Regions from separate parts of the Homo sapiens genome. Here region 2 is linked to region 1. Evidence: promoter capture Hi-C in 16 types of primary human blood cells and fetal thymus (Javierre and others, 2016). All regions are on one chromosome and are shown on one strand. The core of a region is centred on a gene start or on the middle of the fragment in contact, and the rest is flanking DNA. Distances in the headings are between cores, read along the strand shown. Region 1 holds the start of CCDC68 (coiled-coil domain containing 68). Region 2 has its middle 87 kb from the start of RAB27B.

Region 1 (5,186 bases), core at 1,864-4,363:
CAGTAGCTGTAAGAGAAATCCATAAACATCAATCCCTGCCTCATCCCTAATCCCCCAATATCCAACCTCTGAGAAACACCACTGGAGTTTTAAATTAATAATAGTTTATAGATTCTCCTGAGCTTCCCTGTGGAGGTTGCTAATATATTGTAACTCCACACTCTCATGAATCCTGAGTTTACTCTGCTCCCCTCCACAAAAGTTTTATTAAAGTTACTGAGAAAATAGTCTATTTGCAGAACTATGAAATAAAACTATGATTTCATTCTAATTAGAATGACCACTTTCACTTAAAGTCTCTCCTCTCCCGCCCAGAAACGTACACAAGAATCTCAGCTTCATCTCTGACCTTGTCGCTTTCTTCTGGGATATTGTCTTAGTTCCAGGGGCTATAACAAAATAACATAGACTGGTATTAACTGGCTTCAACCACAGTTATTTATTTCTCACAGTTCTGGAGGTTGGGCAGTCCAAGATCAAGGCACCCAGAGATGTGGTGTCTGTGGAGGCCTGCTTCCTGGTTTGCAGATGGCTGCTTTCTTGCTGTGTTATCACATGACAGATATCTCTTCTCTCTCTCTCCCTCTCTTTATTTGAGACAGAGTCTCACTCTGTTACCCAGGCTGGAGGGCAGTGGTACACTGTCAGCTCACTACAGCCTCTACCTCCCAGGCTGAAGTGATCCTTTCGCCTCAGCCTCCTGAGTAGCTGGGACTACAGGAGTGCACCACCATGCTCAGCTAATTTTTGTATATTTTGTAGAGATGAGGTTTTGCCATATTGCCCAGGCTGGTTTCAAACTCCTGGGCTCAAGCGATTCACCTGCCTTGGCCTCCCAAAGAGATGGAACTATAGGCATGAGTCACTATTCCCAGCCTTTTGTCTCTTCTTAGAAGGGCACTAAAACCCACTCATGAGGGCTCTACCTTCATGACCTAATTACTTCCCGAAGACCCCACTTTCACCACCACGTTGGGGATTAGGATTTCATTATATAAACTTTTAGGGGGGAACACAAATCATTCAGTCCATAGCAGATATGGTGAGTCTTAGGTATGAAATGTTTTCCTTTAACTCTTACTTTTCTAACTTTGTTAAAAATAGTTGAAAGATAGAAAATGAGTTAGCTCTGCAGTTCTGGAGTACTCACTGGTACTTCACCGCATCCTGTGTTTACCCAGCTCAACCCAAGCTAATGGAGAAGTAGATTTCCTTCTCCAGGAAGGGTCAAGGCCAGGAAGAGAGGTGGACAGGTCTCAGAAAGCAGGCAGTGTCAAATGCTGAGCAAAAGCCAAGCTCAGAAGGAGGAAATGTGGTGTTTATGGAACCAACTTGCAAATGCAAACATGAGCAAACCAAAGCAATGTAACAAATGATCCTCAACAGCTGGGTTTCTTCAATGCTGAAACTTGTAATAAACATCCATGGCTATCTTTGGAACACGATTTGTCTGTAAACATACATACATCTATTTACTAGAACCACAAGGATTAGTTAACAAAAAAATTACCTAAGAACCATCAACTTTCACTTCTCCAATTGGGTCACAATCTACAAGTTAATCTGCTAGGAAAAAAAAAAAATAACATTCCTCTCTAACTGTGGTGGGAATCAGTAATCATAGGATTCCCAGGAAGATTCTGAAAAGCCCTTGGATATTGAAGGATTTGGGTTGCAGTTTTCTCAATCTGTTAGATGTTGAGGGGGGGCGGAGGAAATACACCTTTTTTTTTTCCCCACAATCCTAAAAGTTTATGAACTTTCAGAGAGACACAGGAGCCAACCTGAAAGAGTTCCCAGTGGTCAAAGCTGGAACCATTTGAGCAACAAAATTAATAATGTAGTATTGAATTCTAGCCCAAAGTATAAAATAAATATACATGGGTCCATACTGACATAACAAATACTGACATAAATGATTGAATAAACAAGAGAGATGGAACAAATCTTCCTTACAGAATCATTCTAAATAATAACATATAGATACTCCCTGCTCTGGGATGGAGTTTAATCTTGCCCTCATCTTGAGTGTCAGCTGAATTGAGTCATGCCATTCATGCCATTCAGAGTAGAGTGTATGGAAAGAGAAAAACAGCTTTGCAGTAGAGAAACCTGGCAGACACAACCTTAACTATGGGATCAAGGTCAAGTCACCAGTGATAAGTCACCTGGCCATCGTGCCATCGTCCCTGAGAGGATGCAGTGGGGAAGGCACTTCATCTCTGAGTCTTTCCTCCCCCCAGTCTCATCATGAGAAAAAAACAGTAGACAATACCCACATGAGTGGGTGTCGAGGTACCCCCACAAAACTATACCTTACCAGAATACTTCATCACAATACTTTACTAGAATTCTTTACAGCTGTCAAAGTCAAGAAAAGACAGAGAAACTGTCATGGATTAGAGGAGACAAAGGGCACAGGATGCTAAATGCAGTGTGGTATCCTGGCTGGGATCCTGAAAGGGAAAGGCGTTAGCCAAAAAGCTAGTGACAGCTACATCAAGTCTGGAGTAGTGTTAATAGTGGCAGATCAATGTTAATGTCTTTTAAAAAATATTTTTAGTAGAAATGAGGTCTCGCTATGTTGCCCAGGCTGGTCTCGAACTCCTGAGCTCAAGCGATCCTCCCGCCTGCCTTGGCCTCTCAAAATGCTGAGATTACCAAGGCGTGAGCCACCGCACCTGGCCCAATGTGAATTTCTTAGTTTTGACAAATGTGCCACAGTTATGGAAGCTGTAGGCATTAGGAGACACCGACTGAGGGGTATATAGACGACTCTCTCTACTATCTTTGCAACTTTTTTTAAGTTCCAAAAGAAAGTTTTTTAAAAAAACAACAAAATTGCACTTGTACTCCATAAATTTATACTAAAAACAATAAAATCAAAAATTATTTAAAAAACAAAAACAAAAGTTTATAAACTTAGGGTGCAAATAGAACCTTCTTGAAAAGCAGCGGCCGATCCCCTCCCCCCACCCGCCTGTACAGCACCCTAGCGAGGGGCGTGAGGGGCAGAGCCTGGCTCTCCAGCGCTGGGCGTACGCGTCCTGCCGCGACTCCTCCCCGGGGCCTCACCGGCGCCGGACTCTGCCCTGGGCGCGCCCCGCGGGGCGGAGCCAAGCCTGCGGGCGGTGGCGGCTGCACTCGCAGGGCCCTGGCAGCCGACCCTGGCCCCAAGGTCCGATCGCCCAGGGGAGGAGCAGCACCGGGACCCCGCGTCGGCTGGGCGCCCCACAAGGTAGGCGAGTCTGGCCACCTTCGGGCCCGGTCCCTGCGGCGCGCCCCCGCATCCCCTCCATGTGTGTGGGTGTCCAGGTGCCTTTCCAGCGGCTTCCCCAGTGGAGTTCCTGGCATCAAGGACATTTCCTGTAAAAGGGTCCTTGTTGAAGAGGTAATCCTCCCTGGAAACCTCGGTTCTGGGCTCGAATTTCCTGGGCGAGAAGTTTCTTCCCCATTGGGAAGAGCTGCTTTTCCGCAGAGAGGAACCCCTACTTAGTCCGGCGCACACCTGATTATTTATTTAGGTTGTTGTTATACAATCCGTTTGTCAGGGGTCCCCGCGATTTCTGCCTGCTAATTTCAGAGGCTATGGAGAAAAGTCCTGCGGTAAACGCCCTGACCTAGGAACTCCAGCGTGGTGGCTTTGACAGGTCACTGCGCTCGCATTTTTTAAAGAGCAGAGATGAATGAAGGTGGCTGTCTTCATTCATTTGTGCGGGCTTCTGCAGCCGCAGGTGTAGTAAAAAGAGCAGCCCATTGCTTGACCTTTTCCTTAATGTTGAGTAGCATCATGATATTTTAGATGTGGAAGTTACAGAGTGCTAGGCGGCTAGACAAAGGAACACTCTTATCTTACTGAAGGTTAGTACGGGACCGTGCAAGTGTAGTTTTTAGATTGGATGATAACATAGCTGTGAATTTTCAGCCTTTTTGGAAGTGAAGACAAAATTGAATATAAGGATCAGAACAAGCAACAAGCCCTGAACATAACTGAAGGTGTACCTGCTCCCCATTATATTCTGATTGTTTTATTTTAGGAATCAAAACCTCTTTTACTTTCTTGGTGTATATAGTTCGGATGAAGTGTCAGAATACAAAAAGGAATTATTCTGTGTTTGTGATAGGGAGGAGATAATCTGTTCTTTTGATTTTACCTAATGCCATTAAATATTCAGAGCTACTGAAGTCTGGTTTTCCTGATATGTGAGCTGGGCAGGAGTGTCAGGTACCCTGGCAGACACAATTGGTGCTGTTGTTATGCTTTTCCCCCGCTGCCCACTCTCTTCCCCACCCCACTCCCAATTTGAGAGGGAAGGCCCCTGACACAGAGGAATTTCTGCCCAAGGCAGGGAGTATCCCCGTGTGGTTCCTCAAATGTTTGCAGAAAGAATGAAAACAACTACACTTCTTGGGACCCAGGCCAACGTCATAAGGCCGACGTCATAAGAAGGTTCTTTCCTCTTGTTATTTACAAAATAAATTGATCCCTTGTCCTAACTAGAAAGAGACTTTTGAAATTAATACTGTTGCTATTTTGTGAATTACTGATAGGCATGTTATTTGTTAGCTTATTTGTTTACAGTATGCTCAACATTGAAGGTGAGTTGTAATCCAAATTTTGGCCAAAGCTAAAAAATGTAAGCTAGATTTAGACAAACCTGAAAAATGAGGTGTTTATTTGCTTGGAATAATGACTGAAAGGGGAAATAACTGAAGATTTTGATGGGAATGTAAAAGTCTTTTAAAATAGTAGTTTCTCATCTTTAGAACTGAGATATTTACATCAAAATTATATGGCTATTTATTGATTGAAAACATTTCATAATGGCAAAATTTTACCATGAATTTACTAACACGTTTAAATGAATGTCATTTACTAAGCACAAAAACAGCCATTTATATAGGTTTGGAAAATGAGAGAGAGAGAGAGAGAGAGAGAGAGAGAGTGTGTGTGTGTGTGTGTACATTGTTTTAGAAACTATTTGGTACATCTGTAAATTTGTGGGCCTATTCATGTATTCATTGAAACAATATTTATTGAGGACACTGTGTTCTGTGTGGGAGAACCAGATGGGAGGGGAAGTAGGGTCTGGGCCAAACACAGCCCTGTGTAAATCAGACACATTTCTATCCTCCTGGAATTTACTACATTGGAGTCCTCCAGGCCACCCCAAGTCAAGGCCATA
Region 2 (5,186 bases), core at 1,106-3,605, 220 kb after region 1:
TTCTTTATCACATTTTGAAATAAAAATAAATAACTAAAACTTTGCCCTAAAATGAGACAGGAAAGGTAGAAGAAATATTAAGCATCCAAATCTGCTAATCATTTTGAATGGGTCCAATATGAGCTACCTAGGAGATATACAAGTAGCCATGGCTCACACACTTTCCAATGAATGAAATCAATCTATCTTCTTCATATAACATTTATTCACTGTTGATTTTAATAAGTTAGTACAATGGTAAAAAGAACAGATTCAGGCAAATTGCTTGGCCCAAATTATCTCGAGGGATGATTGCTGGATATAAATTACATCAGAATCACTCCTCTAGGCACTGGTTTTCACCACTAACATCTCTTGTCTGGACTGTGATGTGATATCTCTGTAACTGGTCTGTGCTTCTCCCCACCTCCCTTACGGTCGATTTCCTAAGGGCACTCAAGTGAACCATTAACACGTGACAGAGCATGTCTCTTATTTTTCCCACCTCTTCAAGGGTTTCTCATCTCACTGGGCATAAAGGCCACAGTTCTATCAAGGATCTATGAGCTGATTCGCTCTGTCCACTCTGGCTCTTTGTTGTGTATCTGATCTCACCTCCTATTACTCTCCTCTCTCCCTCTTTATTCTAGCCATATTTACCTTCTTGCTCTTCCTGGAATGTGACAAACACACTGCTATGCAAGGACCAGGCATCCACCAGTCATCATTCCCTCTGCCTTAGGTGCTTTTTCCCGCATTTATTGTCTGAATGGCTCATTCCCTCACTGATCTCAGGACTCTGCCTAAGTTCCACATGGACTGAGTTTTCCTCACTCATGATTCAATGGAAATCAGCTCCTACTCTCTCGGCCCTTGATCTTCATTAATTATTCACATCTGACATATTATAGCTGCATTTCCATATTTGCATTGTACTGTCTGGAGCTCCAAGATAACAGGAACTCTATTATCAGCCCCTAGAAGAGGATCTGATTCATAGTAGGAACTCAATCAATATGGGCTGAATGAATAATAGAATACCACCACAAAAAGAGCTTCTAATTCAGTTATGTTAATATAGTGACATAAAATGCTGAAAATTACAGTGACACAAAATGTTGAAAACTACAGTATGTAAAAGCTAAATAGCACAATAGCTGAATGAGATGCTGCAGAGTAGTGTGGAATTAAGGACCAGATACAAAATCATTGGCTTAGGCAATAAGAGTGGGTGTCCAAGAATGCTTGAGATTATGTTATACAGGACCAGGAAGAAAAGTGATCTTCTCTGTTTCTATCTAGGCTTGAAAATCTTGTTCCAAATTGGAAGACACACTTCTGAGGATTGCCAGCAACTTCTGCAGGCTTCCAAAAGTAGTACATGGTCTGGTCATCCTGCCAAAAGCTGACCTCACAGGGTGAGTTGACATAGATGCAAAATTTGCAAGGCTTTCCTGCACACTTTAGGAGTCATGAGCCCTATTATCAAGGTCCTGGGATATGGCCAACATCCACAGAGGAAAGCACAGTGTTATGCAACTGGAAGCTTTTGGTCTTCATATGCAAGTGGGCAGCATCCTCCTTGTGGTTAGACTCCAGGGATTTGCTGTTTTCTGTCTCACAGTCTAGAAACATAGAAAATCTGGAAGCCAGACTGCCTTACACCTACCACTCAGCTGTCTTCAGGGCACTTGTTCTCATAATTACTTGCTTTATACTCAGAAAATGCAAATAAACTTGATTATTAGCAGAGGCAAAACACAGAAATGAAGGCCAATCTATTGCAGACATAGCAAATGTATTCTTAGTAAATAAATTACAAATGATTTAAATGACCTTATACTTTATAACATTTGTATGACTGACCCCAACTTCCTCCTGCCTTCCGTTCTGATAGATTTAAGTAACATCATGTACATGTACTTTTAGGTTTTTGAAAAACAAGCTAGGATGCTTATAAACTCAGAAAGATGAAACTGCTTCCAGGCAATTTAATCATCAAATAAACCGCATGTACGATAATGACTTCAACACTGTATTCCACCCACCATTACGACTGCCAGAAAGGTCTCTCCTGTAAGTTTCCTGAAGGACAGTGTTACAAGAGGCTTACAGTTTCCTCCAGGGTGATAATTAAGTCATTTTGCAAACAATTGCCTTAAAGGCTTTCTCCTGGTCATTTGTCCTAATCAGAAAAATAAGACTGCTTTAGATTCTCTTTCCCTTTCAAGCTTTGCATATGAAAACATTCACTCCTCTATGAAAAGCTGCATTAACTTTTACACTGAAATATACTTTTATTTGTAGCACAAGCCTTCAGGCCAAAACAAACCCCTTAAGACTGATTTTGCCAGAAGGTAGAATGTCAGAATCCTCAGAGCTTGTTTTTGCAAGTATTTAACTCTAGACTATGTCTTCAGATATTATAGAGGCCTTGACTTCTTACCTACTGCCAGCTTAGGCAAAAGGAGAACTAAGCCATTGCCAGGAGGTAGGTCACTTTTTACTTAAAGAAAGCTTAGAGGCCAGGTACAGTGGTTCACCCCTGTAATCTCAGCACTTTGGGAGATGGAGGTGGGTGGACTGCTTGAGCCCAGAGTTCAAGACCAGCTTGGGCAACATGGTGAGACCCTCTCTCTACAAAAAATACAAACAAACAAAAAATTAGCTGGGCATGGTGGTGCATGCCTGTAATCCCAGCCACTTGGGAGGCTGGGGTGGGAGGATGGCTTGAGCCCAAGAGTCAGAGGTTGTAGTGAGCTGAGATTGTACCACTGCACTCCAACCTGTGCAACACAGCGAGGCCCTGTCTCAAAAAAAGAAGAAAAAAAGAGCTTAGAGTTCTTGGTTCAGCAGCACAGTACATAAGATTGGAATGATTCTTAGTAGCTTCTCATGGCCACTATATTTCTTAAAAGCCAGATGCACAACAGTGAACTTAGTATACTAACTTTTTTGTGACAAAAGGGAGGAAATAATATACATTCATCTTTGACTGTATTGGCAAATGGAAACACTGAATAGGTGATAAACCTCTTTAGCTTTAAGGAACAGGGCTGTGGGTGACATGGTGGGATGGGCGGAGGAATGTAGGTGAGTGTTCTAATGTTGTCCTTTTGTATTTTTCAAGTTTTGATTTACTAATTCAAAATTTAAAGGGTCTCATAGGAAGATATGGTCTTAGTAACATTTAACTGTATTTTACCTTATCTTTGAAAATTATTGTGATACCACTTGCCTCTTAGGTTTTGTATGCTAGGGACACTATTTAGTATCCATGACTTCCGGAATAAATGCTTTTTATGAAAGTAGGTTATTAGATTATCATCATGACCAAAAACCTAGGTAGAGTTTATTGAAAATAAAGACCAAGTTTTAGTCTTGTCATATGTTTTCATCAATTTCTCAGCCTCCTTTCTTCTGTTAATAAAAATGCACTAGCAGTAAAATCTCCTCATTTCATTCTTTATATTATCTATCTATCGATCTATCATCTATCTATCTATCTATCATCTGTCTATGTCTATCTATCACTTAGTGAGAGCCTGCTATATACTGGCTTATATATCCCAAGCTTTACATTTTACAAATGAAGGAAGCTGTGGCTCAGAACTTTTAAGAGACTTGCCAAAGTTGCTGATCCAGCATGTATACCTAGATCTAACTAATTAGAAAGCTCTCACTGTGCCAACAGGACCACTTTAGCCACTCCTAGGTCATGATTCTACTTGAGAGAAAGTGACATGTTGACTGGAGACATTCCACTGTCAAGCTGTGGAAACTCAGGCAGGTATCCTATAAATAAAACATTGGAAAGAAGGTCCTCATTTCCTTTCTTGTTCTAATATCCAGATGAGTTACGTTAGATTGCTCTCTTTAATAAAAATAGGTTCTGGAAATTTGTGTTGGAAAAAATGGTCTGAATACTAAAATGTTTATTCAACGTAAGGATTGCAAGAATGACTCATCATTTCCTTCATATCCCTGAGGCTCTATAACTCTTTCTATTTAGACATCTAAGGGGTTAGGAGGACAATGTCTGAGAATTGTTTCATTATCTGGGGATGAGCTAATAGAAACTATAAGAAATAATCATTCTTATAGGAAGATCCTTAACATTACTGCCTTATCCAGAATCAATCAAGTAACTGAATTTTAATAATTGTAGCCATGAGATGAATTCTTCCTCCATGAACTTGTTACCAGACCATGAACAAACCATAAAAGACAATAATAGGTAAGTGGGACTATATCAAATTAAGCTGTTATGAAAATAAAGAGGCAAGCTGCAGAATGAGAGAAGAACATATTTGCAATACATATATCTTACAAACAATTTGTATCCAGAATATATAGATAACTCTTACACATCTACATGGGCAAATGATTTGAGTAGACATTTCTCAAAAGAAAATATATGAATGTCTAATAAGCTCACATAAAGAAGCTCAATACCATTAGGACTTCGAAGAAATGCAAATTAATCACAGTGAGATACCACTACATACCCACTAGAAGGGTTAAACTTAAAAATATTAAGAATACGAAATGCTGATGGGAATGTGGAGAAACTATTTGTACTGGAGAAAGTAAAATGCAACAATCACTTTGGAATAAAATTTGGCAGCTTCTTACAAAGCTAAATGTACACTTAGCATGTGGCTCAGCCATTCCACTCTTAGGTATTCACCAAGAGAAATAAAAATGTGCCACACAAAGATTTGAAGATCAAAGGTCATAGCAACTTTATTCATAGCAGCAAAAAAAAAAAAGAAAGAAAAAAAGAAAGAAAGAATTTAAGGGTACATCAACAGGAGAATGGATTTTAAAAAGGTAGTATTTCTTTCTTTCTTTTTTTTTTTTTTTTTGAGATGGAGTTTCGCTCTTGTTGCCCAGGCTGGAGTGCAATGGCAGGATCTCAGCTCACTGTAACCTCCGCCTACCAGGTTCAAGCAATTCTTATGCCTCAGCATCCCAAGTAGATGGGATTACAGGCACCCACCACCACGCCTGGCTAACTTTTTGTATTTTTAGTAGGGATGGGGTTTCACCATGTTGGCCAGGCTGGTCTGAAACTCCTGACCTCAGGTGATCCACCCGCTTCAGCCTCCCAAAGTGCTGGGATTACAGGCATGAGCCACCACACCTGGCCAAAAGGTAGTATTTCTATATGGTGGAATACTATTGAGTACTAATAAATTAAAATG

What was found. The method cuts DNA at HindIII sites, captures the fragments that hold promoters and counts their contacts. A CHiCAGO score of 5 or more calls a contact.
Region 2: a contact is called between a fragment that was not itself captured here and the fragment with the promoter of CCDC68 in region 1, in 1 of 17 cell types (erythroblasts). The highest score is 5.1, in erythroblasts.

What each region holds. Positions count from the first base shown.
Region 1 is chr18:54,957,388-54,962,573 of GRCh38, reverse strand. It overlaps CCDC68 (coiled-coil domain containing 68), which reads left to right and starts at 3,113. Exons shown (of 12, transcript NM_025214.3): 1 at 3,113-3,238. The HindIII fragment of the contact is 7,607 bases long and covers 1-5,186 here.
Region 2 is chr18:54,739,118-54,744,303 of GRCh38, reverse strand. It overlaps a transcript of RAB27B not described here. Among named protein-coding and RNA genes, the nearest start is that of RAB27B, 87 kb to the left of the region's middle. The HindIII fragment of the contact is 286 bases long and covers 2,213-2,498 here.